Regions from separate parts of the Homo sapiens genome. Here region 2 is linked to region 1. Evidence: promoter capture Hi-C in human tissues and cell types (Jung and others, 2019). All regions are on one chromosome and are shown on one strand. The core of a region is centred on a gene start or on the middle of the fragment in contact, and the rest is flanking DNA. Distances in the headings are between cores, read along the strand shown.

What was found. Contacts are between HindIII fragments. The study calls those that stand out against the background at their distance.
Region 2: a contact is called between a fragment that was not itself captured here and the fragment with the promoter of PRB3 in region 1, in 2 of the 25 tissues and cell types used here (small bowel and thymus).

What each region holds. Positions count from the first base shown.
Region 1 is chr12:11,265,661-11,272,940 of GRCh38, forward strand. PRB3 (proline rich protein BstNI subfamily 3) reads right to left here and starts at 4,047. Exons shown (of 4, transcript NM_001394862.1): 1 at 3,946-4,047; 2 at 2,973-3,008; 3 at 1,516-2,488; 4 at 254-369. The coding sequence starts at 4,009. The coding sequence ends at 1,533. All of the region lies in intron 1 of LOC107987435 (a long non-coding RNA gene), which reads left to right. The HindIII fragment of the contact is 7,773 bases long and covers 883-7,280 here.
Region 2 is chr12:11,368,427-11,375,706 of GRCh38, forward strand. No RefSeq gene overlaps it. Among named protein-coding and RNA genes, the nearest start is that of PRB2, 24 kb to the right of the region's middle. The HindIII fragment of the contact is 3,197 bases long and covers 1,418-4,614 here.

The DNA.
Region 1 (7,280 bases), core at 2,797-5,296:
TAGTGAGCCAAGATTATGCCACTGCACTCCAACCTAGGTGATAGAGCAAGACTCCATTTCAGAAAAAGAAAAAAATAGAAGTCAGGGAAGGAGATAAACAGTAAAATATTTTTCATGGCAGCTGGCTAAATTAGGATTAAAGAGGAGGGAATCTCCCTGGAAGCATCAAAGAGAAGGGGTCCTAGATGTTCTTATAATGTGTTCTTGGTCCTCACACTCCACATTCACAAACACTGAGAAAGAGACACCACAATCAGAAATTGTAAGCTGTTTATTTTATTGGTATATTAAAGGTAGAGCTATGACCACCTTCTTCCAATGTCATGGCATTTGAATCATTTGAATCACTGTCATCTTCTTGTTCACTTCCTGAAACAAACAAACAAGGAATTTCATAGAGCAGACTTGACATGGCAGGAAATGTCGAATTCCTCACTGGTGTTACTGCAGTAGAGTACATGAGATCCCATCCTCTCTCCCCAATCCCTTCAACCTCCTGTGATTCTTTCCTGATTTTTTCTGTGTTCACTCTTTTGATGCCCTTGCACACAATGTGCTCCAAATTGTTGCTGAGAAGATGAAGAGAAAAGATCATCCTTAGGTTGTTATGACTCATTGCTGTTGAATTTGTTCAGGGATATATTTACACATATGATAATCAGAACCTATTTTATAATAGTGATAAGATGAAACCACCCTCAGTATCCAGTGACAGGGATTGATTAAAGAAATCATGGTGCAGCCACACAATGGAGTAGCATAAAATTGTAAAAGCAAACAGAAAACCACTGAAGAGATGTATTTAGCTTCATAAACTGATGTGGAAATTTTCAAGAAGTGTATTTTTAAATGACTACCATATATACCTGCATATAAGTTATGGTATTAGTGGTAGGGTAAAAGAATGCTGTATGTCTATGCACACATAAATATTTCAAAGAGAAGATCCCATAAAGTCAACAGTGGTAGCTTTTTGAAGGAAGGAAGGTGAGTAGGATGAGCTACGCCTTTAAAATTAACTTCATATTTTTCCATTCCATTAGATATCTTTTGTTAGCTTAATCATGTACTTACTGAAAACTAAGTATGTAAAAAATGAGACACCATTTAGCTGCTGAAAGATCAGGGACCATTTGGCAGGAATACTGGACTCGAGAGGCTGGCGTGAGGCAGGAATGAGCAAACAGTGCTCAGGTGAAAAATTTAAATGCAATATCTCTGAGTTTGTGGACCGAAAGCAGAGCACCAAGAATGGACATGGTACTACTTCCTCATTGCCAACACAATTTAAGACAGATTGTATGGTATGTTGTTTCTCAACATCAGAGTTCCTTAAAGAGTTTGTTAGAAATACAGGGTCTTCTTACCCTATTCCAGAGTATCTGAATACAAATCTTTAGAAATGGGTTCTAGGACAATACAATGTCAATGGGTTTTTAGTTGATTCATTGGCACAATAAAGTTGGAGAACTGTAACACTTAGAGCACTTGGTGAAGAATAAACTGGAATCATACCTGTCATTGAACCTTGATTACTGGGGAGGCTGTCCCTGGGGAGGTCTGTGTGGTCTGCCCCCTTGAGGAGGTGGAGGTGGTCCCTGGGGCTTTCCAGCGGGAGGTGGCAGAGGCTGCTGGGGATTGCCTCCTGGTGGGGGTGGTCCTTGTGGCCTTCCTGGAGGAGGGGGACGTTGAGGTTTGTTACCTTCTTGTGGGGGTGGTCCTTGTGGCTTTCCTGGATGAGGTGGGGGACCTTGAGGTTTGTTGCCTCCTTGTGAAGGTGGTCCTTCTGGCTTTCCTGGACGAGGTGGGGGACCTTGGGACTGGTTTCCTCCTTGTGGGGGTGGTCCTTCTGGCTTTCCTGGACGAGGTGGGGGACCTTGAGGTTTGTTGCCTCCTTGTGGGGGTGGTCCTTCTGGCTTTCCCGGACGAGGTGGGGGACCTTGGGACTGGTTTCCTCCTTGTGGGGGTGGTCCTTCTGGCTTTCCCGGACGAGGTGGGGGACCTTGGGACTGGTTTCCTCCTTGTGGGGGTGGTCCTTCTGGCTTTCCCGGATGAGGCGGGGGACCTTGGGACTGGTTTCCTCCTTGTGGGGGTGGTCCTTCTGGCTTTCCCGGACGAGGCGGGGGACCTTGGGACTGGTTTCCTCCTTGTGGGGGTGGTCCTTCTGGCTTTCCCGGACGAGGCGGGGGACCTTGGGACTGGTTTCCTCCTTGTGGGGGTGGTCCTTCTGGCTTTCCCGGACGAGGTGGGGGACCTTGGGACTGGTTTCCTCCTTGTGGGGGTTGTCCTTCTGGCTTTCCCGGACGAGGTGGGGGACCTTGGGACTGGTTTCCTCCTTGTGGGGGTGGTCCTTCTGGCTTTCCTGGACGAGGTGGGGGACCTTGGGACTGGTTGCCTCCTTGTGGGGGTCGTCCTTCTGGCTTTCCTGGAGGAGGTGGGGTACGTTGGGGCTGGTTTCCTCCTTGTGGGCGTCGTCCTTCTGGCTTTCCTGGAGGAGGTGGACACACGGCATTCACTGAATAGTTGCCGCAAATTTTTACAGTAACGCAGCTAAATGGGGAAATGCACAAAAATAAGACCCAGACACTAATTTCTTTGCATTTTCAGTGAAGCTCTAGAACTCTGGAGTGGAATGCTGGAGAAGAAGGAAGCAGTTGAGGGGCTCTCAGTCTAAGGAGGAGTCAGAATAAGGACACTGGCCATTTGTCTGTCATCTCCCAGCAGGCACTCCTGGCAGGAGGGAAGTCAACCCACTCCCGTTTTCATCTAAGCCAAGCATCTCTGCCATTCAATTTGGTGGCCCTGCTCATGGTCCCCAAAATCAAGGTTGCATGAAGATTGCCTGCATTATTAGGGGGACTAATATTAATCAATTTCTAAAGGAAAATGTTGGTGAGAAGACACTGGAGAACTGATCCATTCATAAGCAGAAGAAGATAGTTAAAACAGATTGAGAGTGAATTGGGATTTACCTGATATTACGGAGGGAGATTCTTCCTGGCTGACATCTAGAAGAGAAGCACAGGATGATGGGAAAGGTTACATCTCGAATTTTGCAAGATTCACAGGTGTTCTACAGGGAAAGGGGACTTCTCACCACACCCCATGCATCCCCTAGGTTAGCTCATCAGCTACCATCTGTGAAGCTGCTGGAAGGGGAGGAAGGTGTAAGGGGAGGCAGGGTTGTTACCACACAGAGCAACAGCCATGAACTCAATATAGAAGAGCCCCTTTTTTTCTTCCCTAGCATCCTTCAAGACTTAATGCTAATTTAGTTTACACATGCCAGGTACTTCAATGTGATATTTTGGTATTCTTATGCCCTCCATCTCCTATAAATACATTGCTTATATTCACAAGCTTTCTCAATTTCGGTAACCAGAAGTAATTGTTTCAATACAATCTTACCTATACCACTCCCAGCACATTGAAATACTGTGTGTAGGGGAAAGAAAAATCACAATGATTGAATCTGATATTTCTATATCTGTAGTTAGACACAGGCAAGTGTTTTATCCAGTTCTGTCTCTGCAGTATCTCTAATGTGTGTTTATCTCCATCATCAATGCTGATCCACTAGGTAGAGCAAGGCCACAATCATCCCTGTGTACTTACTGAGATCAGTTTAGGATCTTCACAGCTGGACTTTCCTGAATCTGCCTTGCATTCACCACTGCATCCTTCACAGCACAGTTCTATCTCTCTATAAATGCAAATCTTACCTTCTCATTCCCCTGGTACAAATTCTTTATTGGATTTTCATTGTACATTAAATAAATTAGAAGCCCTTGGTGTGGAATGAGGGCACAACAGGTCTCCTGATCCTAGGCATGAAACCTCTGCAGCCCCATCTGTGTTTTCATTCTCCTCTCTTCCCCATAATTACAACTATCACCTCCTAAGCCCCAAGCAGAGTCACCACATCTTCTCCTCCTTCTGTCTTACCTTCATTTAAGCTCTGAGCTGAGCTCAGGGCCAGCAGGGCCACCGACAGCAGAATCAGTAGCATCTTGCTGGAGGCTCTGGAGTCACTCCCAACTCTGTGCTGGGAGAACCATGGCAGCTCCCTTTATAAAGAGGAGCAGAACAGTGGCACCTTTGAGCTCCACACTGGGTGGGCCTCACCACCCCAGAGACTGGGTTCTGCTTTCCTTACTGCAGGTCAGGTGTATCCCTTATTTCTGTCTGGGACTCTAGCCCAGAGGAACAGGTTGGGTTGGATGTTGTTTGTACCTTATTTCTAAAAGGTACAACTATGACTTGAACAAAGGTTTTAAAGGAACTGTGTCCAAGCAATCAGCACGGTGTCATAATTGAACTTCAGACGTCATTAGAGTTTCAATCTTTTTGGTAAGACTATTGTCCACTTTCAACTTTGCTATTTATTTCTGTGTATGTGTGTGTGGGCAGTGAAGCTACAGCCAGCGGTGATGATGATCAATATCTCTGGCTGTTTTTATAGCCTATTTCCATCTCTCGTGATGTGTGTGTACAGAGAGTATCACATTTAGCTTAACTTTTGATGCGATAGAGATAGTTTCTGCTATCTGGGAGATGTTTGAGGACAGCACACTCCTGGGCACACAGATGACAGAAGGCTGCCTCACAGCCTACTCAGGCTACAGCTATTGTTCATGCTTCTGTGGATCTCACTCAAGTCAGGAAAGGCTTCTTGTTGTGAAACACAGGAAGGCCAAAATTGTGTATTTTAAAGTATCTTTAGGGGTTATGAATGCAAAATGGACACACAAACCACGAGGAAATTTCTAGACCTGAGAAAACTGAATATATAGTTCCTTGCAGGAACCATGCAATATCATGTTGCCAAAACTTCCTTCATGCTCTTCCCTTTCTCTAGAATATTCTACAAAATTCACCCTCTGCTTCATTTCTTTTAAGAATTGTATTGAATTCCTACCTCTGATAATTAAGTGGCTACAATTCTACATTCAAATAAGGTAATCAGATACCCTCATTAAAGCCTCAATTGCATTGTATTGGTTTTCTTGGTTTAGTCAGTATTTGTGTTACCTGTTTTCTCAGATTGTTCTTCCACAAAGAGTATTTTTTCTACAATATTCTGATATGCATTCCTCCCTGACGTTCTTTCTGGTACTTCTTTGTTCATATTTTATTTTCTGAGTCAAGCTCATTTTGTGTAATTTTCTTTATATATCTGGCTTTTTTCCCCAGGAATTTGGTAAGATTTCCTTTATTTAATCTTCTAAGTAATAAGCTATAATTCTCACCACCTTTGTTTCATTCTTGTCTGTGTAATTTCACAATAAATGTTGTGTTTCCAAAAAGCCCTCTCAGAGTCCTGCATTGTTAGCACTTCTTTTAGCTGCTGATTCTTCTGTTATACCTAGTAAATCCCTGCTCATCAGTTCATGGAATATACAGGTTAGTCAGTGAGTCAGCTGCCATTTACCACTTAGACCTTCTGTGTGTCTTGTGTAATTGTTCACATTTTGTGCATGGCTGGTATTAATTTGAGGACAGCTTGGCTGGAGGTATGATGGAGGTAGAGAGGGTATGTGACAGTAAATCCTAAAGACAGACCTCTTGACCATTGTGGATGAGTGGATCCTGGACTGTGCAGATGAGGGTCTGGTCTGGCCCTTCTGAAGAGTTGGGGGTAATAGTACAGGAAGACTTCCTAATACAGAAGGCTTTGCTACAGATAACTTTGCCCTTGCAAGGGAACCAGGAAGATTGATATTTTCCCTGGCAAAAATATAGACATACTTGAAAGGGGAATATATTATTAATTGGAAATTATTTCTGGCTCTATGGAAAGTGGACTGGTTCTAGCTAGTCTTCATGAGTTTTATCTTAGGCAGAGAGTACTTGCTTGTGCCAGCAGGTCCCATTATATTATTGAGATTTCTATCTCTGGTCTCCTCCATAGGAACTGGAGATGACCAATCCTGCCTAGGTGTCTTAAGTTAGACCATCAGGTAACAAAGGAATGTCAGAAACAAGGAGCAGCAGAGAGGCCAGGCCAACATTGCCTGATGTTGTCGCCAACTTAGGTTGCTGCAGGCCTGATACAAGAAAGATTTGTCCTTGGCAGGAGAGTAGAGGAAGACAACAGAAATGCCCCTAAAAGTCCCTTATCTCAGGCCCTTTCCCTGACTTTCTCCAATGTCAGCAATGAGTAAAGTGTATCAGGAAAGCATAAATATCAGCTATGCACTAACCAGACAAAACAAAAACAGAAGTGATGGAAATGTGGAAAGGGACACTGTCTGTGAGTGAGGGTGGGTGGAAGAGAGGAGCAGGACTGCAGCAGGAGATTGGGCATCTAGAGGTGAGTGGCAGCCCTCAGCACTCCACTTGCCTTCTAATATCCATGTTCATATTCTGAGGCCCTGAAGGAACAGTCTTCAACATATGAAATTTTAGGAAACACAATTCAGCTCTCATAACAACTCCCAACCTTTTCTAAGTCACTAACAGGTGTTCAGTGGTTCAAAAATCCTCACTCCCTTCAGGCACTGTCCTTTAGCAAATTGAGTTGCCTCCACTTTCAACACTCATCCCAAATAAAACCACTTGCATAATCTTTACTAGAAGGTGATAGTTCAGGCCACGATGCACTCTCCTGAAGAGCTTAATATCCTCAGCTGCTCTTGGTAACATTCCTACCCCAGCATTAGCTCTCTCACACCCACACATCTCTCTCTTTTTGAAGACTGGGAAGTTCTGTGAACGGAACAGAAAGCAGAATTTTCCTCAACTTACTGTGCTCATTGCATAAACCAGCCATTCTAATAATACGGTTGTGTGTGAGAATTCAGATTTGCTTGGAATTGTCTAAAAGCTTCGGTTACACTGATGTAATTGTCATCTTTATATTATATTATATTATATTATACTATATATTATATGATAACATAATATATATTATGTGATGGTCATCTTTATATTTTTATTTGATGTTGATGCTCTCTAAATATATATTTCACAATTATTTGAGCATATTTATATTCTTTCCATTTATCCTAGCAAAGGCTGATTATAATAGAAAACACTTCTTCAGCATTTACTATGATATTCAGTCTTCAGAACTATCATATTAGGGAGGTGTGATTATTATTATTATCTTAATTTTGTAGATGAGGTGATTTAGGTGCGTGCCTAGGTTCATGTAAAGGTAGTGAGTGGAATGGAAGGGAGTCAGTTCTCAGATCTGAGTTCTTGCCTACTGTGCTTCACTGGTTACTTGGTCTTCATTCATTCATTTCTTTACAAGAAAGTGAAAGGAAATGAGATTC
Region 2 (7,280 bases), core at 1,766-4,265, 100 kb after region 1:
TGAAACAGGGGCAATTTGCCAGACTTTTTATGGAAATCACTAGGCATTCAATCTCATCCATTTATCTGCTAAAGATTTGGCTTTCTTCAGATTCCAAATTCTTTCATAAGTCGATGTTATCATACCTTGGCCCTCCCAAAAGTTATCAACCAAAATACCTTGGGCATCCAAACACACTGTTGGCATAATATTTGCTTTTGTCACATTTACTTAGACTAGATGACTTCCACCTCTTGGTAGCCATTGCTTTGATTGTGTTTTTGCCTTCGAGTGGCACTGGTAAAGCCACATTTGATCTCCCGTTACAACTCTTCAAAGACATGCTTAGGATCTTTTCTTTTCTTTTCTTTTCTTCTCTTTCCTACTTCTTTAATTTTTCATTGAATATTCTGTTCTCGTCTGTAGCTGACTTGGTTACAGCAGTTTTGGCCTTCATCAAGTGGATAGTTTGCTCAAGTTTAATTTCTCAATCAGAAAAAATTATGTAATCTGAACCAATTGATCTTGTTCTTGTGCTAGCTCTTGTTTCTGTTGTTAATTGTCAGAACTTTCCAATTAGGCCAAAAGAAGATAAAATTTTTGCCCATAAGTTGATGTGTATGTTCTGCTGCTGCAAGTTTTACCTTCACCATCATCTCATCGATTCTTAAAGTGAATTATCCATTTTCTGAAGGGCTGATTTACTTGTGCACACATATGTCCTAATGCATCAGTGATGTCACCATCCCTCCACCCAAGCTTCACCATAAACTTGAATTTGTTTTTCCTACAATTTTAGTAGAATTTTTGCTGCTCTGATAGAGGCTGTTTTCAAACCGCTTTCTCAACCATGTTAGTGACTGAACAAGATCCTGTTCAGACATGTTGTAACAAGTTAGTACAAATGTATTTTGATACAAAAAATGATTATATCCACTCATAATTTTAAAAAGTCATAAGTATTTTCTAGAAACAGTTTGAAAATCCCTTATATTATTGGAAGCCTTCCTCATACAAGGAGGGTTGTTGCAGATTACTCTGCCATTGGCTGGTGATTAGACAGACTGTTGTTTTCCTCCCTCACCCCTTCTGGAATATTAGGGATGTTTGCTAAAGAGGAAATATATTACCAGTTAGCAATTCTTCTTTGGCTATGCAATAATAAAACATGTGTAGTTTGGCTTTATGTGCTTTAGGGGTGGGCATAAAGTAGTTGCTTGTCCTAGCGGGTGCCCTAATGATATTGGGATGACTATCATTGGTTTCCACACACACTGATTAGACAGGGAAACTGGAGATGAATGGTCCTGCCTAGTGACTTATGGTAGACCTTTTAGTGGGAAAGGAAGATCCGAGGGAAGGAGCAGAGGGGAGTGCCTTGCAGACTTGCCTCATTGCATAGGTTGCTGTAGAAGTCATAGTCCTGGTGAAAGAAAGGCTCCCCCTTGGCTTGGTGAGTACAGGAAGACAGCAGGCATTGCCTTCAAATATCACTCCTCTCAGGCCCTTTCTCTGACATTGTCCAATGTCAGCAATGAGTGAAAGAGATTAGTTTATTAGGGAAGAATAAATATTAACTATGAAATCTCCACACACAAATAAAACAGAGATGACAGAGGAGCTGAAAGAGGCCCTGTCAGGGAGTAAGGATGGGGTCAAAGCAAGGAGCAGGCCTGCAGCAGGAGCTCAGGCACCTTTTGGTCAGTTGAAGCTCTCAGCAATCCACTTGCCTTCTAATATGGATGCAAACATAACATGTCCCAAATAAGATCCTTGATTTCTGCATCCTAAACTGCTCTCCCCTGATGTAGTTTGTTATCTCTGCCCTTAAAAAAAACAAAACACACTGTGTAATTTGAACAACAGAAATTAATTTTCTCACAGTTCTGGAGGCTCACATTCCATGATCAAGGTGTTAACAGGTTCATTTCTTCTAAGATGTCTCTTCTTGGATTTGACTTGGTTAATTTAGTTTTTTGTCTTCAAACACCTTGATCATTTACTTTCTGAAAAACTTTCACAGTCTATAAGGTCTTTTTTCAAATTTTAGACTTATATATGTTAGTTCTGAAATTTCTATTTTATTATTTTCTATAGTTCCTTTTTCTGCTGAGAAGCTTTTTCCCATTTATTTTGAGAGTGTTCACATTTACCTCAGAAAAGTTGGCTATAAGAGCTGCTTTAAAGTCTGATCATTTCCATATCCAAGTTGTTTCAAGGTTGTCGTATCTTGATTATACCCTTCATTAACAGTTGGTCAATTGTTTACGGTTTGTAAAAGTATATTGAGTAATTTTCAATTTTATGCCTCACATGGGCATTTTTCTGTGTTTACAATACACAAAAAGTTCAACAAGGCAAGCTTTGGACATTGAAGGGTGGAGGCACTCAGGCTGCATCGTGATCCACCCACTGGCTCCACTGGCAGAAGAGTTAATCCCACTGACGTTATTCTGCTTGAAGCTTCTATGTGGATGATTCTCCTTGGCTCTTATGAGATAAGAGTGTAAGTATTTCACATAATACACACTTATAAAATTAAAAACACAGAAAAGTGTGCTGAATGGGTCCCAAGGGCCTTATCCACAATGTCTTCCTAACTTTTCATGTTTTGTACCCCATTTTCTCAAAGCTCAATTGAACTCAAGGACTTCTTTTTTCTTTTCCTCTACAAGAACCACAGAGTTTAACATTGGCTTCTTAGAGGCTATCCCAGTAGCCAGGCAGCCCTGCTCTCTTCTGATGGGGATTTACAGAATGCAGGAAAATGAGGCTGAGGTAGAAAGAGTGACTATACACCCAGCATGCTGGCTCATGACTGTAATCCCACTACTTTTGGAGGCTGAGATTGGAGGATTGTTGATGTCAGGAATTCAAGATCAGCCTGAACAATATAGCAAGATCTCCCCATGTATACAACAAAATTTACAAAATCAACCTCGCATGGCGATTGGCACTTGTAGTGCCATCTAATTCAGAGGGTGATCTGGAAGAATTGCTTGATCCCAGGAGTTCAAGACTGCAGTGAGCCATGATTGCACCACTGTACTCCAGCTTAAGTGAGAGAACAAGTCCCTGTCTCTAAAAAGAAATAATAATACTAATAATAACAATAATAATAATAAATGACTACTGCAACTGAAAAGCTTTTTTCCCCCCACCTTGGCTTCTAGCCCCAGGGTCTACCTCGTTTAAACACAACTCCAGTGTCTATGGATTCAACAGACTTGCAGTCTCTTCCTTTCTTTCCCCTTATATGCCACTGTAGCTCTTTCCTGTATCCTCAGCACACCTTCCCCTACTCTGACAGAATCAAGTACAATGGTGAATTGAGCAAGTATAGGCAATAGAGCTATAAATACTTATGTTTCTACCCTCCTTGATATTTTTGCAAGATTTGGAGATGAGTACGTAGGGCCTTTAGTCCTTTTTGAGCCAGGTCATCTCAGGCCCAGCCCGAATCCTTAAAGGAACTGAGATCCGAGTAGAGGAAAAGAAGTGATAAGAGAGATGTGAACAAAGTGTCTTCATGCAAGTAAGTAAGACACATTTACTGTCTAATTCAAGCATTGTAGTCACAGCCTAAGACTCAACTGAATAAACACGTGAATTTTAAGTCTCCCCAAAGGTGTGCAACAGCTTTGGGGCATCTTTAACCCTTTACCTCCTGTTGTCTTTGGAATAGAGCAAAAACTAAAGTGTTACATGGGAAGTTTCCTTCAATTCTACCACCTGGTACTCAGTTTACAACCATTTCCCAATCCTACTTGTTAATGAGCTATATAAAAAGACACAAATTATTGACCACTTGTCATACATTTTGGTCAACATGCCAGCTATTGATATGTATTTTTTACATTATTAACTGAAGGAAAATGGATGCCTTTTACAAATGTTATAAGATTACAAAACAAAAAAAAATGAAAGAAACCAAATTAGGGTTGTAATATGTCCAAAATTGTTTTCTTCCAGTTGGTTCTTGGTCTCGCTGACTTCAAGAATGAAGCTGCGGATGCTTGCAGTGAGTGTTACAGTTCTTAAAGATGATGTGTCCATAGTTTGTTCCTTCAGATGTGCAGATGTGTCTGGAGTTTCTTCCTTCCAGTGGGTTCTTGTTCTCACTGACTTCAGGGGTGAGGCTGCAGACCTTTTCAGTGAGTGTTACAGCTCTTAAAGCTGTGTCCAAAGTTGTTTGTTCCTCCTAGTGGGTTGATGGTCTCACTGACTTCAGGAATGAAGCCGCAGACCCTCTCGTGGGTGTTACAGCTCATGAAGGTAGTGCAGACCCAAAGACTGAGCAGCAGCAAGATTTGTTGTGAAGGGCAAAAGAACAAAGCTTCCACAGCATGGAAGGGGACCCAAACAAGTTACCACTGCTGGCTCAGTTGGCCAGCTTTTATTCCCTTATTTGGCCCTGCCCACATCCCGATGATTGGTATATTTTGCAGAGTGCTGATTGGTCCATTTTGCAGAGTGCTGATTTGTCCATTTTACAGGCTGCTGATTGGTGCGTTTGCAATCTTTTAGTTAGACACAGAGTGCTGATTGGTTCATTTTTACAGAGTGCTGATTTGTGCATTCACAATCCTTTAGCTAGACAGAGAGCACTGATTGGAGCATTTTTATAGAGTGCTGATTGGTGCATGTACAATCCTTTAGCTAGACACAGAGGGCTCATGGGTGCATTGTTACAGAGTGTGGATTGGTGCATTTACAGTCCTTTAACTAGACCCAGAGCACTGATTGGTGCATTTACAATCATCTAGCTAGTCAGAAAAGTTCTCCAAGTCCACAGTGGACCCAGGAAGTCCACCTGGCATCACTTCTCAGTAATGTGAAAGCCTAATGATTTACCATGAGAACTCTCATATAATTGCCCTGTTTGATAAGAGAAATGAGCAGGAGGAAGGTTGTGGTGAAGGACTCTGCTGAAGCTTTCCCAGGGATTCATCTAGTAAAGCTTTGACTTTCTCAAAATATTCTCAGAATAAGGAGATACTGTCATTCTCCAGAAAGTCAACCAGCAAAATGACTTGAGCTTTCCAATAAACTCTTGCCAAGATCTTTGTGCTCTCCTCATCCACTTTTGTTTTGACTGGACATTTCCGCCTCTTGGTAGCCATTGCTTTGATTGTATTTGTTTTCTGGATTTTACTGGTAAAGTCATGTGTTATCTCCTCTTATAATTCATTGAAGAAATGCTTATGGTCTTCGTTCTTCCTATTTAAATTTTTAGGGAAAGTTCTGCTCTTGTCTGTACTTGATCTTGGTGACACAGTTTGGGCATCCATTAAGTGAAAAGCTTACTAAACTTTAATCATTCAGTTAGATTCATGTAAACTGAACCAACTGAGAAGTCTGCAGTGTTGGTTATTGTGTGAGCTGCTAATCATCACACCTCTTCTCCTGGGTATAAAGAAGATGAATTTATTCCTTGCAATATGATGTGAATCATCTGTCACGATAAGCTTTAGGTTCAACATTGCCTCATTCCTTCTTGAAATGAACTCCTCATTGAATTTGTGAACTGCTGACTTCTTCAACCAATGTCAACTTACCACGTGTCAAGTAGGACAACTCTTTGGACACCATCAATGATTTTGCCTTCCTCCACCCAAGCTTCACCATAAATTTGATGTTTATACTCACTTTAATTTTAGAAAAATTCATGTTGGTCTTCTAGGGGCTCTTTTGAAACTGCTCTTATTTTTCTTGATGCCTCATACTAGCTCCTGTTCAGACATGTTATAGCAAAAGATTATGATTTCATTTTGGTGCCAAAACATTGGAATCCATTCATGGTGTTTCTTAATAGGATATACCTTTTCCTTCAACATTTGAACAACCCACTGCATATAGGAAGGCATCCTGATACAATAAGCTCTACTAGAGGTAACTTAGAATTTTGCAGCTGACTAGGCAGATTGCTGTCTTGTTTTTCTCTTAGGATAAATAGGGATGTTTTCTGAAGATGGAATATAATACCAGTGGCCAAATATTCTCCAGTTACATAGAAAGTTTAACATTTGTAACTGAGATTCACATTCTTTCAGAGAGACACAGAGTGCTTGGGCCAATCTGGTGTCCTGATGTTATTGAATGATTTTCTCTGGTTTCACCAAACATTGTTTGAAAAGGAAGCTGTTGATGGGCAGTCTGGCCTAGGTAGCTTATGGTGGCCCATCAGGAAGGAAAGAAACGCAAGAGAGAAGAAGCAGAGGGGAGAGCCAGGCAGATGTGACTCCTTGTGGGAATCAGTGGGGAAGCTGCAGTCCTGGTTAGAGACAGACTTCTCCTTGTCTGCTGAGTACAGCAAGGCAAGAGGTGATCCTTCCAAATATCACTCAACTCATGCCCTGACCTTCTCCTATGTCAGAAATGAGTGAAAGAGATTAGCATATCAGGAAGGACTAAATATCAGATATCAAGCTACCAGAGACAAGCAAAATAGAGGTTACCAAAGAACTGATGGAGACAGTGTCACTGATTTAGGATGGGGTAAAAGCAAGGAGCAAGATGGCAACAAAAGCTTAGGCATTTGTCCATGAGTCAAGGACGTCAGCAATCCACTTGCCATTTAAAATAATGTAACCATACCGTTTACATTACACTCCTGCACTAAGCAGGACTCTTAATTTCTGCCTCCTAAAACCTGCTCTCCCCTGAATTTCTTCATTATACCTGTCCAAGCAAAATATCACAGACTAATATTCTTAAGCAACAGAAATTATTTTCCGACACTTCTGGATGCTCAAGTTCCACGGTGAATGTGTCAGCAGGTCCAGTTCTTCTTGGCCCTGTCTACTTGGCATCTAGATATCACCTTCTTGCTGTGTCCTCCCATGGGGCTGCGTCTGTGCCTACGTACTTCTTGTGTCTCTCTGTGTGCAAATTTCCAGTTCTTATAAGGAATTTCCACTTTTTCTAAGGACATTCATCTTATTGGATTTAGTTCCACTGAAACTCCCTCATTTTAGCTTGATCACCTCTTCTTAGGGCTATTTTCTGAACACAATCATATTCTAAGGAACAAGAGGTAGGTTGGCTGTGGAGTTTTGTATACCTATGCCTATCATATTTCGCTAAATATTTGATTATATAGAGGTTATGTCTTTAGAACTTTGAGCTATGTGCAGACAACACAAACCTGGCCATTCATGGCTGACAGAAGGTTGGCCCTCAGCCCGGTCGGACCCACACAGATTGTCCAATATTCCTTGGATCTGGCTCCGATCAGAAAAGTCTCGGTGTTTTAGGATACAGGTGTCTTAACGAATTCTATTATTAATATTCGTGGAGAG